2 separate regions of the Homo sapiens genome follow, and region 2 is linked to region 1. The links are contacts of gene promoters, found by promoter capture Hi-C in blood cells and fetal thymus (Javierre and others, 2016). All regions are on one chromosome and are shown on one strand. The core of a region is centred on a gene start or on the middle of the fragment in contact, and the rest is flanking DNA. Distances in the headings are between cores, read along the strand shown.

Region 1 (4,667 bases), core at 1,108-3,607:
TTTCTAGGCCCTCTTTCAGATCTATTGATTCCAAAGCTCTGGCTGGAAGATGGGAGAGTCTGCATTTCTAATAAGTCCCTGTGTGATTTTTATGAAAACCGGATGTGAGAACCATGTTCCCAAGAGGGAAAAACTCCCACTACATAAGAAGTTTATAAGGCCGGGAATGGTGGCTCGCTCCTGTAATCCCAGCACTTTGGGAGGCCGAGGCGGGCGGATCACGAGGTCAGGAGATCGAAACCATCCTGGCTAACATGGTGAAACTCTGTCTCTACTAAAAATACAAAAAATTAGCCGGGCACGGTGGCAGGCGCCTGTAGTCCCAGCTGCTCGGGAGGTTGAGGCAGGAGAATGGCGTGAACCCGGGAGGTGGAGCTTGCAGTGAGCCCAGAAGGCACCACTGCACTCCAGCCTAGGCGACAGAGCAAGACTCCATCTCAAAAAAAAAAAAGTTTATAGCCAAAGGAAATTCTGCGCAATAATGATCCAAAGCTTCATAAAGGAGAAAAATTTTAATCCTCAGAATACATTTTCACATGCTTCTGTTAACAGGGTGGAGACAACAATTCATGGAGACTGAGACCAAAAGTGACTTGAATATACGCACCCTAATTGTGTGTGTTCAATAAATTCCTATTCTAGAGGCCAAGAGAACGGGTGGAAAGGGGATACACTGCAAATGCTTACTTAAATTTCAGAAGAAGGAAATAAAACTTATTGCAATAGTCAGGTAGGTCTGTTAAAACTGAAGTTTCATGATCTCAGAAAATGGAACCACTTTCTCTTAAACTCAGCTAAGTCATGACAGACCTCCCCGCTCCAACTCTCCATGCCTACCACAAACCTTGGATAATCTCCCAAATGTAAACCTTGTCTACCGTATCCTGTGACCATTAGAACAATCAGAGGCAAGGAGATACACGGTCTTTTGATTAAAGTAAACTGAAATAACCAATTAAAATTTACATTTGTGCCTCTCGCTCAAATAAACAGTTATAGAAGAGCTCTCACTGAGATGTGGAACAGAATCAAGCAGCTCTGAACTTTTCAAATAATAACAACTGTTATTTCCAAATAACAATTTCTAAATAACAAGCTGATGAACAAAATATTTATTTACCCACCAAGCCACAGTAGCCTGAGACATTCTCTGGTTCAGATAATAAAATAAATGCCTTAGAGGGCTTTCGTTCCTAAGATGCTGGTGAGTTTAGCACTGTGACTGCAAGAAATCGGGAACCTACGACAAAAAGACGCCCAGCCTGCCCACACTAACCGTCCAGAACTAGGTCTGGAGCAGCAAGGCGGGCGGGGCCGCGATTTCTTCCGCATCGCTGCGCCCGTTCTTCTCCGCCTGCGTGAGCACCGCCCACCCACTCGCGGTGTGAACATACTGGGTCTCGCCTCTCCTTTCCCCTCCCCTCGGCCTGGTGCTGAATCATGAGCCCAATGTCTCCAAAAGGTAAAATCAAAGAACAAAGCCACCCTTGGGGCTGGTCTGAATGGGGTACCACGTCGGGGTGGGGCAGAAGGCTGGAAACCACAACTTTGCTCTCCTTCTTCCCCAATTCCCCCACCCAACCCCCAAATTAAGAGGAGTACTGCAGTGCTCAGGAATTCCCAAGAGGGTGGCCCTTCTCCCAGTTGCTCGGTCTGCTACCGTCCGTCCGGGACCCGGCGCGCTCCGCCTCATTGTTCCAGCGCGCCGCCCGCCGCCCGCCGCCGGGAGCCCGCGCCCTGCAGAGCCAGCGAGTTGGCGGCTCCCGGGGAGGGGGGTTGGGGCTTGGCCTGCTCTAGATCCCCGACCCCTCGCCCCTCTGGGGCCGAGTAACAACAGCCCCCTGCCCACCCCCATAGCCTTCCTCCCAACCGATCGCTAAGGCGGAACCCACAAGTCCCCGGAGGCGCCTGGTGGGTGCTGTCCAAATGCTGGGAGGAGGCGGGAGGGGGGTGGGGAAGAAGGAGCTGGAGGCCCGGCCTGCGCGAAGCTGCAGCCCTCACCCCGACAGCGCGATTCGGTGACGCGGGTACCGCTCGGCCATGGTTCCTCCGCCCAAACAGGGAGCGGCTCGGCTACGGCCCGTCTCCCAGCCGTGGACGCAGGCACCTAGCAGCCCTTGGCCCTCCCTGTCTCCACAGAAGCAGAAAGTGGAGGGCCAGAAGACCCCGTGCAGGCTGCAGAAGTTCTCATTTGCTACTCACCCCAACTGTTTCTGTCCCTGCGGTTCTTGGCCATGGTGGTCCAGGAGCTGGTGGCGGTGAGGCGCTGTCACTGCGCTCGCTGCCTTCTCCGGGGCCGCAGGTTGCTGGCGGTGGGAGGCTCCGTGCCCGCGCTGGGCGCAGTTCGCTCAGACTCTGAGGATGTTGCTGTGGCGCTGGTGGGAAGGAGTGGGGAGGAAAAGGGAGGAGAAAGCAGATGAACCAAGCTCAGCATCACAAGCCCGAGTTCACACAGATACCAGCGTCACACCCTCCCTACCTCAGTCCACCCCCAGACCGTGAAGACAGTGATAGACCACGTACCGCAACATTTTCAACGGAAAACACAAACAAATAAACAGCACCCCCCTCGAACACACTCTCAAAGAATTTAACAGCGTTATCAGAAATACACAAACCGATATACTGCATGATTCTGGATGTTCAAATACCTGTTTCAAGCACGGTTATACATTAGTACAAACAAGCTGGCAACATTTATATAGCCAAAGTAGCTAAAATAATGTGCATTTATCTACGAGGCACCCATTTTTTTTTCCATTTTAAAAGCAAGGTCATGTTAGTAAAGAGGGTATCATGCATTTTTGTATATGTATACTGAGTAGTTTGTCTTAAAATTAGAATAGCAAAATTTATATCAAGAAGATCAAGATAAATGAAAGCTGTAGATTCATTACGATCTGTAACTCAATATCCACTGGGTAAAATTTCCCACTAGATTTGCAAAGATAAGGTCCAGACCTATAGTCCAATAGCAATTATTTGAGCTGAAATCATACTACATAGTCTGGGTATGGGTGGGCCCTGGCAGCCATAAAGGTTGCAGACAATTTTGAAAGGAAAAGAAAAAAAATAAAAATACTTTCAATCTTTCCCTTTTCACTGCTTTCTCTCTGCTACAAACTTAGTTGTTTTCAGTAACCTGGAAACACTGTCCCTTTATACTACCTCAACCTCAAGATACCATCATGCCGTCCCTTACAGTTTCCTTCTGCCATTTGGTTGTTACTCACACTCTGTACTGATCGGTTCTTAGGAGATCACTGCCAGCCTCTTAATTACCAGATCCATGATCTCTGCTAATTCCTCATGGTAAGCAACTCCTCACGCTACACTCTCTCAATGTAATTTACTATGATGGCTTCAGACAGGACCTCCATGCTGATGATTCCCAAATCTATACTTGTAGTCTTCTGCCCTCTAGAAGAGAGGACATTATACCAGAGGTGTGTTTATAACTGCCTAAGGTTATCCTCACGTTGTTTTCCTACTGACATTTGAACATCAACATATCTGAAAACAAACTCCCCCACCACTGCCAAATCTTATGCATTATATTTCAGTTACTGGTTCTAGTGACTGCAGAGTCGTGAACACTGTAACCAAGTTTACAACATGGTTTTAAAGAAGTCTGTGCTCAACAGAGTTGAAATGACATTAATGAAACAACATAGGAAGACAGACATTATCTCATCCTTATACCTATAAACCAAGTTCATAGAACAAAAGAGAAGTGTGGTCTGCTTTTCTTCTTATATTCCTTTACTATCATTCTCAGCTTACATTCCAGCCTGAAAATCCCTTTCATATGAATCCCATTTTTAAGAGTACAATAGATTACACACAAAAAAGAAAAAATTTATATAATTCAACACCTATGCCCAATTGAAAAAGAAATTAATTTTTTAAAAACCTGTTGTGTTTATAATTAGTAAGTAATCTGCAGGTGAATACTTTGAGACTGTGTGAATCACAAAAAAATGCTTAAATAAATAGCTCTCTGTATGTGACTTTTTGTACTATTGGCCAATAACTTTTCATCCACTGATTTTAGCATCCATTGATCCTTGCCTGAATCAATTTCATATTAGTGATTTTTTAAATGGAGGCTTTAAAATCATTATCTGTTGTTTGTTTGTTTTCCAGACACAGTCTCCCTCTGTTGCCCAGGCCGGAGTGCAGTGGCGTGATCTCAGCTCACTACAACCTCCACCTCCCAGGTTCAAGCGATTCTCATGCCTCAGCCTCTCAAGTAGCTGGGATTACTGGCGGTCGCCAGCACGCCTGGCTGTTTTTGTATGTAGAGACGGGGTTTCTCCATGTTGCCCAGGCTGGTCTCAAACTCATGAGCTCAAGCGATCTGCCCACCTCAGCCTCTTGATGTCATGTCTTTTAAATTAAGTAGCTGGCATTCCCTCTCCCACTTTTCTATGTTGAGTCCCTCTATAAATTAATGGAAGCTTTTAAAAAAATTGTGCTATGCATCACCATTCTTTTTAATGCCTAAATTCCCCTAATTTGGCTGAGGGTCAGCTCGTGTGTCCTTTTAACATTGTCCCTTTTTGTCTTTGAGCAGTTCCCTGTATTCTGGTAAAAGAAAATGTTTCAGGTTCCTTTGTATTTTCCCTATCTTAGAACTAGAATAGCCATTTCTCCAAGATGCTGTG
Region 2 (4,667 bases), core at 1,312-3,811, 310 kb before region 1:
TTTTTAGTAGAGACAGGGTTTCACTGTGTTAGCCAGGATGGTCTCCATCTCCTGACCTCATGATCTGCCCGCCTTGGCTTCCCAAAGTGCTGGGATTACAGATGTGAGCCACAATGCCTGGCCTCATTTTTCTAATTTAAAGAAAACCAGTTGTAAAGTGGAGACTTACTCTCCTTGGCCCACCCACCTTAAGCAGCAACTGGATTTGATAAAAATTTTTGTAAAATAAATAACTAGATTCCCAAGGCATTAAAAAATAGCCACTGAAAAAATCATATGATGAAATGTTCTTGGGTCTCACAACACATCCCACTAGTTCCAGTGCCATGATCAGGGCCAGGGGCATGGCAAGCCCTCCATGAAGGTTTGCTCACCTAAGTGAACCCGGCTCCAAGAATCAAAGAGGACTTGGGATAGTGGAAATGGGTCTGGGCCTCAGCCTCAGCACATCTTATGGTAGCCAATAATCTTCTGCTCAGATGAAGACATACGCTAGTATTTTGTTCTTTCAGGAAGTGTCTCTTGAGACTTTTTTCACTAATTAGTAAGGCAAGTAATAGATGGTCCCCAACTCCCTATCTCCCACTCCATTATCAACAAAGTGGGTTATTCTCTATGAGTATGATGTGCAACTTTGATTCTCTGCCTAATAAATGCCCTTTACTGCCAAATAAATGTTAAATAATCAGCCATCAATTCCACAGAGACCATCAAAGTGAAAAACATTAGATGTCAACGTTCCCAGAATCACCACATCTGGGAGAGAAGTCCTGTTAATATGCAGTTTGACAAGTGCAATCAGGACATTCTGCCACGTGTTCAGATCCAACCCAGAGCTGGGAGGCATGGGTTCTAGGTGACTGGGCCCCTGCAGAGCTGCCAGCACTCTGCTGTCTGCAATGAGAATAAAAAGGAATAGAAGAGAAAAGAGACCAGGTGCAGTGGCTCACACCTGTAATCCCAACACTTTGGGGTGCCAAGGCAGGTGGAATCTGTGAGCTCCAGGAGTTTGAGACCAACCTGAACAATGTAGTGAAAACCCATATCTACACAAAATACAAAAATCAGCTCAGTGTGGTGGCAGGTGCCTGTAGTCCCAGCTACTGGGGAGGCTGAGACGGGAGGATCGCTGGAGCCCTGGGAATGAGCCAAGATTGTGCCACTGCACTCCAGCCTGGGCAACAGAGTGAAACCCTTGTCTCAAAAAAGAAAAAAAAAAGAGAGAGAGAGAGAGAAAAGATCCCCGTTTGTCATCATCACTCTGGGCACTCCAAAGTGAGGTCTCCTGTGTCTGGATGTAATTTTTGGATATTTTCTAATCAGCACAAATTAAACAAAAGGAATAGAAAGAGGGAAGTAAAAATGCCAATACCTTCCCACACCAACAAAACTAAATGAAATACCCACGTGTCCTGGGTCCACGATCTCCAACCAATACCTGGCTTCAGTGCAAACAAGACTGACAATATGTTGCAGGTGGATTCAGGTAATTTAAGATTACTGTTTAAACCGAGGATCCATGGGAGGAAGAAAACAGAAACAAAACCCGAAACACCCACTGATACATTTCAGACTTAAACAACATAAGAACTTGGCACAGGTAATGCCAAGTTATGGTTTCAACACACTATGTACATCTTTAGCATACTGGAGGTGTTTTCTTTAAATACATGCCAGGGAGTTCACACTCAGGGAACTAGGCACGGATTTTCTGATTCTTTTCCACCTACACAGATAGGCCCTTGACCTAAGAGGATCCCGTCCAAGATTACAACATATATTACTATTGTCACTATTACTAATGTCATTCAGATCCATCTTGTATGTTAGCAAAATGGTCAGATAATAGAGATTGGTGTAGGAATTCAACCATCTCCCTGGCATCTGTATTTCAGAAGCCCCCAAAAGTTATAACTTCCTGAAATACCAAACCTGAGAGTCTCGCTGGTCCAGGTTGGGATTGAGGCTGAGGATAGCAAGGGCAACCAAAGAGCCCTAGAGTTCTCAGGGGGCCGCCGAGGTCCCCCGGAAGCCACAATGCTGGGCCTTGGGCCCGGGCCAGCAGAGGGGATTGCGGCCTCGGCCGCGCCCTGGCCCCCTGCCCCATCCCCGCGCAGCCTGAGCCGTCGGGGCCCGGCCAGGGGTGGACCGGGCGGTACTCACCGCAGGTTGCGGTCGACCATGTCCCACCAGGCGGCCACGCAGCTACGGGCTGGGGGCCCGGGCGGCTCGGGCGATGCGGCCGCCTGGCAGTCCTGCGCGTCCATCCCGCGCCGTGTCCCGATACGCCGCCACCGCCGCGGGAGCTGCAGTCCGGAGCAGCCGCCCGCGACCTTCCCGCCCCGGCGGCACCGCGCCCGCCCTCCTCCTCCGCGCGGTCAGGCAGGCTGGTACGGCGGGGGAGACGCGGCCCGAGGGTGCGCTCCGCCCGGGTCAGGCTGTTCGCGGCCACACACACACACACAGATGTCCTAAGCTTATAGCTAGCTATGCTACATTTTATTTTAAATTGATTTCCATTATACTTCTGTGTGTGTGTGGGTGTGAGGCGCGCGCAACGCAGTAAAATATGTTTTCACCATGGTACTACTAACACAAAAGTTTGACCGCCACAGCTTTTGATTTTCATGAAGAATATAAGCTTTCCTCTACTTAAACCTCACTTTTTTCTTTTTCTCTTTTTCTGAAGCCTCCTTGTCTCCAATTCCCCATCCACCCCCAAAATCCTCACAGCCCCCCACCCTGTCACCCTTACTATAGAAAGAATTTCTTTGGCTCCCTTTGATTTACTAATGATTTGTCTGTCCACGTGGGGTTATGAACACAATTACTCCATGTAGCAAAAAATTAAGACCTTTTCGGTATTTTGTTTACGTAGCAGCATGTAGCAGAACCTCATCATTGTACCAAGGAGTTCACACCTTGAAACTTTGACCTTGGTACAGGTTTACATCTTGGTGCAGGTTTACATTGTGCAACTGTCTCCTAGGAGCAGGAACTGTCTACCAGAGCTACTCTAGGGAAGCCACGGCCTGCATGTGTGGGGACAAAGGAGGAAGAAAGGGAATTAGGTTTTATTTGGATACATTCGGATGCCAGCATCAAGGCTTCATCTTGGAGGCAAGGTGCAAATCTTAAGAGGTGAAATGGGTTTTTTGTAGTGTCTGTGTTCAGAGGGCACAGCAGGGGGCTGTCAGCACCAGAAAGTGCGTGGAAACCCATCTGCTTGAGGATAGTAAGATGGTCTGGGGGAAAATACCCACACTTTTCAAGAAAGGGAAGTTTTCTTTGAGTACTAGCTCATTTCATGGAACTGTCAGGGCAAAGGGGGATTTTGTTCACTGCCTGTTAATACTCTTATACTTGCTCTGGGAATGTTTGTTTTCTTTGTTTCTTTCTCTTTCCTTCCTTCCTTTCTTTCTTTCTTTCTTTCTTTCTTTCTTTCTTTCTTTCTTTCTCTTTCTTTCTTTCTTTCTTTCTTTCTTTCTTTCTTTCTTTCTTTCTTTCTTTCTTTCTTTCTTTCTTTCTTTCTTGTCATGGTCTTACCCTGTCACTGAGGCTGGAGTGCAGTGGTGCAATCATAGCTCACTGTACTTGAACTCACTTGAACTCCTGGACTCAAGCAATCCTTCCACTCCAGCCTCCCAAGTAGCTGGGACTACAAGCATGCACCACTATGCCTGGTGCGCGCGCGCACGCACGCTTGTGTGTATAGAGATGAGATCTCACTATGTTGCCCAGGCTGCTATCAAACTCCTGGCCTCAAGCAATTCTCCCACTTCGGCCTCCCAAAGTGCTGGGATTACAGGTCTCTGTCACCACACCTGGCTGGAATGTTCAGTTTCTGATTCACACACATCAAGATAGAAGAGGAATTAGCTCAGAAAGGACCAATGGGATCCAAGCCTGACTGATGAGCCAGCAGCAGGTGGGTTTTCACAGAGCCACAACCTGCATGATGAGAAAGCTTCAAGCAGATGTCGGCTCTACCCTTGGAGTTCTTCATAAACGTGGTCTGGAATCTCCCAGAACTTGTTCAGGGAAGCTCTGGATGGGACTCTGGGGCCATGCCAAGTGGAGATGGAGGGATCAAAGATGGGGAGGAGAGCTTGGAGGAGAGAAGAACAGCTGCATATGGTCCCAGAGTCTATTTCCATCTACTTGCTCAGGTTGAGAGAGGATATTTCCATCTACTTGCTGGATGAACAAAGTTGTAAGCCCCAAGTCTAGGGATATGTTTGAAATGCTCAGCAAAAATCTCTGAAATTGGAAATCACTATGGCCCATTTTTTGAAAGGTTGCATAAGACTCTGCAAGAAGGTCTTTCCCAGTATAAATAGCCCCTTTCAAATGGCACATCCTGGAAATCAGGGAACAAAGTCTCCCATATGATTTGATAGAACCTGAAAAACAAAATATGCATTCATTTATTCAGCACCCATTTACTGAGCACCTTTTAGGTACCAGGTACCACATTGGGCACCGTAGGGATACAAATCAGGATCCCAGCTGGTAGAGATTCATTTCAGGATGAACCATGAGAACACAGAACAGGAAATGAAAAGTGTCTTAAGGGTAGAGATTAAATCAGGGGATAGCAGGGGCTGGAGGTGGGGAGGGGAGGTTGACTACAAAGGGGTGCGAAGGGACATTTTAGAGTGATGGGA

What was found. The method cuts DNA at HindIII sites, captures the fragments that hold promoters and counts their contacts. A CHiCAGO score of 5 or more calls a contact.
Region 2: a contact is called between a fragment that was not itself captured here and the fragment with the promoter of ATL1 in region 1, in 10 of 17 cell types (total CD8 T cells, endothelial precursors, naive CD4 T cells and 7 more). The highest score is 7.7, in total CD8 T cells.

The regions. Positions count from the first base shown.
Region 1 is chr14:50,557,835-50,562,501 of GRCh38, reverse strand. It overlaps ATL1 (atlastin GTPase 1), which reads right to left and starts at 2,357. Exons shown (of 14, transcript NM_015915.5): 1 at 2,203-2,357. The coding sequence starts at 2,236. It also overlaps a transcript of MAP4K5 not described here. RefSeq lists a silencer at 1,663-2,022 and an enhancer at 1,764-2,263. The HindIII fragment of the contact is 3,968 bases long and covers 495-4,462 here.
Region 2 is chr14:50,869,775-50,874,441 of GRCh38, reverse strand. It overlaps ABHD12B (abhydrolase domain containing 12B), which reads right to left and starts at 2,389. Exons shown (of 13, transcript NM_001206673.2): 1 at 2,164-2,389. The coding sequence starts at 2,267. The HindIII fragment of the contact is 165 bases long and covers 2,479-2,643 here.